2 separate regions of the Homo sapiens genome follow, and region 1 is linked to region 2. The links are contacts of gene promoters, found by promoter capture Hi-C in blood cells and fetal thymus (Javierre and others, 2016). All regions are on one chromosome and are shown on one strand. Each heading gives the region's core, a stretch centred on a gene start or on the middle of the fragment in contact. The rest is flanking DNA. Distances are from core to core; before and after follow the strand shown.

Evidence for each region. Contacts are between HindIII fragments. The CHiCAGO score rates a contact against its expected background, and 5 or more counts as called.
Region 1: a fragment that was not itself captured here is called in contact with the fragment with the promoter of DLG4 in region 2 in 2 of 17 cell types (monocytes and naive CD4 T cells); the score reaches 6.4 in monocytes.

What each region holds. Positions count from the first base shown.
Region 1 is chr17:7,605,095-7,609,126 of GRCh38, forward strand. It overlaps FXR2 (FMR1 autosomal homolog 2), which reads right to left. Exons shown (of 17, transcript NM_004860.4): 2 at 1,003-1,055; 3 at 551-644. Among named protein-coding and RNA genes, the nearest start is that of FXR2, 7.8 kb to the right of the region's middle. The HindIII fragment of the contact is 4,908 bases long and covers 1-4,032 here.
Region 2 is chr17:7,215,247-7,219,171 of GRCh38, forward strand. It overlaps DLG4 (discs large MAGUK scaffold protein 4), which reads right to left and starts at 2,381. Exons shown (of 20, transcript NM_001321075.3): 1 at 1,872-2,381. The coding sequence starts at 1,901. It also overlaps a transcript of ACADVL not described here. RefSeq lists an enhancer at 1-711. The HindIII fragment of the contact is 10,481 bases long and covers 1-3,925 here.

The sequences.
Region 1 (4,032 bases), core at 412-2,911, 390 kb after region 2:
ATGGTGGCTCATGCCTGTAATCCCAGCACTTTGGGAAGCTGAGGCGGGTGGATCACCTGAAGTCAGAAATTCAAGACTAGCCTGGCCAACATGGTGAAACCATGTCTTTACAAAAATGCAAAAATTACCCGAGCATGATGGCAGGTGCTTGTAATCCCAGCTACTTGGGAGGCTGAGGTGGAAGAATTGCTTGAACCCAAGAGGCGGAGGTTGCAGTTAGCTGAGATCGCGCCACTGCACTCCAGCCTGGGCAACAGAGCAAGACTCCATCTCAAAACAACAACAACAACAACAACAAAAAAATCAGAGGGCACTGGATTTTAGATGTTGTTACCATAAATGGAAGGCAAATCGCCTGAAACTGGGGATGTTCCTGAGAGTTTGGCTGATCACAACAGTGATAAAAGGGGAACTGTTGCATTTTACATTTCCATAGGCTACATGGCTGGATATGGCTTAGTTGGGGAGGAAGGAACATGAACCAACCAGAGAAAAGCCTAGAATCCTGGGGAAAAGTGACATTTAGAAAGGTGTACTCCACAGCCCTTACCTCCACTTCATCCCCTTCTGTGATCTCCTTATTATAGTCAGCTGGAGGTGGTAGCCGGACATCCCCAAAAGGAATTTGTCTCTCACTCTGCCAGCTATAATAGAAACAATAATATGAAAAAGCTACTCTGACTGATATGGTTGCCCATTTCTTTACAAAAGGGTTATTGCCTCAGCTGGGCGAGTTCCACCTATCTGGATAATTAGAGGCTAAACCCCAGGCCCTGCTCCATAGTAGTGTCTTCCATCTCTTTCTAGACTCTAAATACTGGGTCAAATGCCCCCACCCTCACCAAATTCTCAGCCCTTTCCTCTCCTGGGATCCATATGAGTTCCCACCCAAACCCTCAGCTCTCCCAACCTATTACATGCCTCATAGGACTCAGCTGCCCCCTCTTCTCCACTCTCCTTCTAGGACCTAGTATGCTGGATTCTCTATTCCCAAGGTCTTACTTGTTTTCAAAGAAGATGGTGACAGAGTCTTCATGGACATCCTTCACAAAGCCCTAGAATGGATTTTAGAAAAAAGCAAAAAAAATAAAATGACCTTTTACTTCCACCTTAGCCATCAAGGGAATAAGACACCACAAAACCTTAAACTTGAGTTTTAGATAGGGACACAAGTGGTGTAATGAGACAGCCTGAAAGGCTGCACTGGGGAAAGAATATGGGCAGTCAAACAGAGAAAGGAAATGATATTGTCATGGAGAGGTGTATGTACCACCTGCATCAGAACAGCCTGGAAACCAATGATCTACTCAGGCTCCCACAGGGGCCTCCCTATCTGTCTGCCTCCTGTTGTGCTAAGCAGCCTGCCAGAGTTCAATTAAAATACCAACAACATTCAGCAAGGCTAAGAATATCCCATGAGACAGTGTGAGGCTGTCCTGGAACACCTAGAGGACATGAGGATCTGTCGAGAGAGAAGGGCCTACCTCCGCAATACAGCAAGAGATCTGAGCAGACTCGCTGCCCTGATGCATGGGTCCTAAGACAATAATCGGAACACTAGACAAGTTCAAAATTGTGATGAACACAATTTACAGAAGGAAAAATTAAGACTTAATTTAAAAACATCGGTTTTTTAATACTAGAATTGAATCTAGAATGACACTGATAATTTATAAAGGATAATAAAATTTATGGAAGACTCCAATCTTGATATTTTGACAAGAGCAAGAGGGATGACTGAACAGCTGATCCACCTCCTGTGGTCTGTGTCCTCACTAAGGAGGCCAAAGCCATGCATTCACCCCTATGCTCCCAATTTTTCTACCTTCTCCCTATTTTTCACATACAATTAGGGATTTCTAATTTTGAAAAAGGTCTAGCTTATGAATTTATTATTTTATCAACTGTGCTTTTGGTTTCATATCTAAGAAATCTTTGCCCAGGCCAGGCACAGTGGCTCACGCCTATAATCCCAGCACTTTGGGAGGACGAGGCAGGCAGATCACCTGAGGTCAGGAGTTCGAGACCAGCCTGCCAACATGGTGAAACCCCGTCTCTACTAAAAATACAAAAATTAGCCAGGTGTGGTGGTGCATGTCTGTAATCCCAGCTATTTGGGAGGCTGAGGAAAGAGAATCACTTGAACCTGAGAGTCAGAGGTTGCAGTGAGCCAAGATCATGCCATTGCACTCCAGCCTGGGCAACAAGAGCAAAACTCCATCTCAAAAAAAAAAAAAAGAAAAAGAAAAAGAAATCTTTGCCTAATCCAAGGCCACAAAGGTTTTCTCTTATGTCTTCTTCTTAAACTTTTAGTTTTTTGTTTTACATTTACATCTATAATCCTTTATTTTTAGACAGAGTCTCACTCTGTCACCCAGGCTGGAGTGTAATGGCGCAATCTTGGCCCACTGCAACCTCCACCCCCCGGGTTCAAGCAATTCTCCTGCCTCAGCCTCACGAGTAGCTGAGATTACAGGCAACCGCCACCACACCAGGCTAATTTTTTATATTTTTAGTAGAGACGGGGTTTCACCATCTTGGCCAGGTTGGTCTCGAACTCCTGACCTCAGGTGATCCATCTGCCTCAGCCTCCCAAAGCTGGAATTAAAGATGTGAGCCACTGTGCCCAGCCTATGATCCATTTTGAATTAAATTTTATATATAAGGTGAGGTATTGATCAATGTTTTTTAAATTTTTAAATTCTTATTTATTTTTTTGAGACAGAGTTTCGCTCTTGTTGCCCACGCTGGAGTGCAATGGTGCAACCTTGGCTCACCGCAACCTCCGCCTCCCAGGTTCAAGCAATTCTGCCTCAGCCTCCCAAGTAGCTGGGATTACAGGCATGGGCCACGACCCTGGCTAATTCTGTATTTTTAAGAGAGACAGGGTTTCTCCATGTTCGTCAGACTGGTCTCAAACTCCCGACCTCTGGTGATCCACCCGCCTCAGCCTCCCAAAGTGCTGGGATTACAGGTATGAACCATCGCACCAGGCCACTTTTTTTTATTTTTAATATATTTTTAAATTAAAATTTTTTTTTAATAGAGACAGGGTTTCGCTATGTTGCCCAGGCTGGTCTTGAACTCCTGGACTCAAGCAATGCACCCGCCTTAGCCTCCAAGAATGTTGGAATTACAGGTGTGACCACTGTGCCCAGCCCATTTTTTACCTAAAGATATCTTGTTCCAGCACTGTCTGTTGAAGACTATCCTTTCTGGCCAGGGGCGGTAGCACACGCCTGTAATCCCAACACTGGGAGGCCGAGGCTGGCAGATCAGCTGAGGCCATGAGTTCGAGACTAGTCTGGCCAATATGGCAAAATCCCATTGCTACTAAAAAAAAAAAAAAATAATAATAATAATAATATATAAATTAGCCAGGCGTGGTGGCACATGGCTGTAACCTCAGTTATTCAGGGTGGCTGAGGCATGAAAATCACTTGAAGCCAGGAGTTAGAGACTGCAGTCAGTCAAGATCATGCCATCGCACTGCAGCCTGGACAACAGGGCAAACTCTGCCTCAAAAAAAAAAAAAGAAGAAAAGAAGAAAAGAAAAGACAAGACTATCCTTTCTTAGCTGAATTGAACTGCCTTTTCATTTCTATCGAAAATCAGGAAGGGCAATTTAATGTATAATGACAGAAGATTGGTAGTTGATGGAGGACTTTTGGGAGTGACAGAAATGTTCATTCCTTTGATTGCAGTGATGGACTCAGTTACATACATGTCAAAACTTAACAAATGGCACACTTTAAATATGTCTACTTTGTTGTATGTCAATTTCAGCTCAATAAAGATGTTTTTTAAAAAAATTAGAGAGCCCATACAACACAGGGAAACCTCATCTCTGCAAAAAATTTATAAATTAGCAGGGTATGATGGCTTGTGCCTGTAGTCCCAGCTATTTAGGAGGCTAAGGTGGGAGGATCACTTGAGCCAGGGAGGTCGAGGCTGTGATGAGCTGTGATTGCACCACTGCACTCCATAGCTTGGGCAACACAGCAAGACCGTGACTCAAAAAACAAAATAAAT
Region 2 (3,925 bases), core at 1,131-3,630:
AAACCCCAAATGCATGATCTGCTCTGTAAGCCTCCTTCCTTCAGGGATGCTCAACCCTGGGCTCCATGGAAGAAGTAGGAGTCTGGAGTGGGTAATGAATAAGGCCACCCACCCACCCAGAATAGCTGCCTGCTGGCAAGCCCCTCACCCTCGCTCCCATTTGTGTGTTCACGTGTTGGAAGCAGAGCCCACACATTCCAGCGGGCTTTCTATTTACACCTGGAATGCAGGGGACCACAGCCATGGAGCCTAAGGCCAAGTGACAGGCCTAAGGGCAGGAGACAGCGGGAGCAGAGGAAACCAGGCCAGAGAAACTGAGGCATAAAAATCCACCGAAACTACAGGGGATGTGGGGAAGAGGCAGCCTGGGAGAAAGCCCGAAACCCACAGAATGAAGGACAAGAAAGTCGCCCTGGTGGAGAGAGGGTGGGGGCTCCAGATCTAAAGGTCCTCAGCCCCCAATCTCTTCCAACCATCCTCACACGTGCACAATGCATGTGTACACACATGTGTGAGTTTGTGGCAGGGAACATGTGTGTCCTCAGCTCCCTCCCATGAAAAGCTGCAGTTCCCACTAAATATAACCCCCTCCCCAGCCTGTGACTCACCCGGACCCCGCCTCCCCCGGCCCCCACTTCCTGTCCCACCCCCCAGCCCCCAGCTGCCTGCCACCCGCCCAAGCCTCCCTCCACACACCAGGCATCCAGCTCTCCAGTCCCAGAGTCTCCAAGGAGAGCCTAGGTATCTGCATCCCACCAGGAGCTCGCCTGTGCTCCATCCGAGATCTCCTGCCTTTGCCAGGCTCCAACCAGAGGGACACTCTTGCACAGATCCCCATCGCTGCCAGCCCTGCCCTCCTCCTACACCTTTTCACCCCAGTAACCTCAGTAACTTCGGTCATAAGCCCTCAGGGACCCTTAAATCCAGGTGTCCTCCCCCACCTTGATCCCAAGCGTCAGGGGTATCTGGAACAGTCCCCACATCTGCTCTTCTCCCTCTCTCTTGATCAGGGCTAGATACAGTGTGGGAGGAGATGGGGATATTGGGCACCTGCCTTTGGGCCACCCCCAAATTGTGCACCACCCACCCGGTCCCCCTCCTCAAATCCCCTCTCTCCCTAAGCCTCTCATCCTCCTCCTCAGGGGCTGGCAAGCTCGGCTGCTGCAATCTTCTGCCTCCTATGGGAGTACCCCCAAATCCTTGCCTCACCTGGTCCATTCCCTCAGGTGATCCCATGCCAGGGCCCCAGCCCTCTGACAACTTCCAACTACCTCCATTCTATATGACTGAACCCTAAATTAACAGTTCCCTCAAATTGAGAGAGCATCCCTAAATGCAGCCACCACGAGATGCTTGTTCTAGAGTCTGAAGGCCCACCCCTTCCCTGCCAGCTGACACCCCCAGATCAGTCAGGCACTCACAACCAATAACCTTTACCCCATGCCAGGAGCCCCCCAAAACTGGACAAGGCCCTTGGAAGCCAGCTTTTCCCTGGGGAGGAAAGAGGAACCCCCCAACATAGCCCACCTTCCCACATACACCAGCAGGACTCCCTTATGAGCCAGGCTTCTCCTTAAATAAGTCTCCCTCAAACAGCGCTGATGAACCCCCAAACCCGCCAGGCCCCCCGAACCATGGAATATCCTAAATTTTCCATATCCCTACAGGTACAAAGGGATCACTCCAGGGGGCACCTGTGGCCAAATCCTGCATTTTCTCAGATGTGAACCCCAAAACTAAATTAAGACCCCCAAATACATCTTACTTCTGATGCTGCCACTCCAGGGGCGCCAGTCCCAGATAAGGCCTACTAACCCCTCCCCACAAACTCATACCCTCCCCCCAGTTTATAGCCCCCCCATCATGCTTACCTTGGTTGTCACTATACAGAGACAGTCCATGTTGGGGGGCCTGGCCGCGGCGGCGGGTAAGGGGCTCTGACTTCATCGGAGTTTCGTTCCTCCCCTCCGTGGGTTCTCACCCCTCCCCCCTCCGCACCCCACTTTTGCAGGGGGGGCCAGGATGGGGGGAGGGGTGAGAGGGGAAGGAGGGGGTTGGAGAAGGGAAGGGGAGGGGAGCGTGGGAGGGAGGGGAAGGGGGCCCTAAAAGGGGCTCCCCAGTGGAGGGGAGGGGGCTTGGGGAGCACACCCCGATTCTCAGGAGGGGCGGGGGCACCGGGGGCTGGCAGCCCCGGAGTTCGGGGGCTGGGGCATGAGCTGGGGTGGGGGAGGGGAACTGGATTTCGGGGAGCCCCGGGGTAGGGGGGGGTCTTGCCAAACGGCCAGGGGCTAGGGGCCGTGGCGGGGGAGTGGGGTGGGGGGGTTGGAAACGGCAGCGGCCGAGGGAGCCGTGGAGCCGAAGAGGGAAGGGGAGAGAGGAGGAGAGAGGAAGCAGGGGGAGGGAGGGAGGGAGCTAGGAGCCAGAATGGGGGGGGTGCCTTGGCAGAGTTAACTCCTTCTGTGCTGGCAGGAACCCGGATAATGGGAAAGGAGATAGAAGCAGAAGCACAGAGGCCCCTGAGGCAAACATGGAGACCTGGCCAGCCACCAGCGATGACAGCAAAGACGATGAGGCTGGATTTCATTTCTTAGAGAAGGAAGCATCTATAGTTGGGCTGGGAGCACCCACGGTTATTTGAATACGGGAGGGAGGCCTCTCGGCAGGCGGTAGGGGGTCGGGTGTGAGGGAGGAGCTGAAGGAGGCAATCCCTGGGGGCCTAGTTCTCCCTCAGGTTTCTCAGGGGGAAACCTAAAAAGTTAAGCCCTAGACTCTTTAGTGCCTGAAACTGGGGCAGCCAAAGAAAACGAGGAAGAAAGGGAGAGTGGGTACAGGACCACAGAGAGTGCATTCTCGGTGCCCCAAGTCCCTGGGCCACTGACTCAGGCTTTTGTCAGCAGGGCCCCCAAGATTCCAGGTAATATTAGTGATATTTGGCTCACCCCTCCAGCCCTGCCTGCCCCTCAGGAAGTTAGGCGCTCGCCCCCACCTCCTTACCTGACTCTCTGAGAGGGAAGCCTCATAATAGTCCAGGATGTCTGTCACAGGAACAGAACTGAGTTACCTCCCCACCCCAGGCCTCTCCAGGCACATCACCCCTGTCATCACCGCTGCTGGCTGGCTGGCAAGGGAGGAGCCCTTTCAGCCAAGGCTGGTCCACACTCATGGAGGACACCATAGGCAGGACCCTGCATGGTGCTCCAGCTTGGACCAAATGATCTCTGGGCTCCCAAACAGCCCCCGAAGTTCAGTAATGGCCCTTGGAGGCCCAGGTCCCTCAGAAAACGGGCTACTCACCCAGCAAGGCCTGGAAGAGGTCGCTATGCAGCACTGTGAGGAGTGGGGGTGCCCACCGCAGCAGTGGGGGTGCCAGGAGCCAGAGGGCTGACCTGGGAGCTAGTGAGATGCAAGGAGAATTGGGACAGGGAAGATGCCAACACAGGAAGATGAACACACTGTCACTTCATCTCCCCAGACTGTGCCCTTCACCCCAGCCCCTACGGAAAGATTTGGGGAGAAGGATCTCCGAGCCCCAGCCCCCCACTTCGCTCCCAGACCTCCCCTCCACAAGGAGCCCTGTTTTTCACCTCTTGGTCTCTGGGACATCTCTCTCTTCTCTCACTTTAATCTCCCTAATCCTCCAGGATTGGAGTTGAGCTGCTTCTCCCCACTAAATTCCAGCTGTGAGTAAAGTAGGCCGTCTCTGAGCCGACCAGCTGTCCCATTCCCCCAGGTCCCAAGGCACCAGCACCGCCACCATCTTGCTCCACACACCCTGGCCCCCTCTTCCCATAGGCAGGCAGAACCTAGCCACGCTCTCCTGAGAAGCCAGCAAAGAGGGCCTCCTCACAGAGGGCTCCAGCAGCTCAAAAAGAAGCTGAGCCCAGCTCTCTCTCCTCCTGGGCCTCCTCTCACCCCAATGAGAATT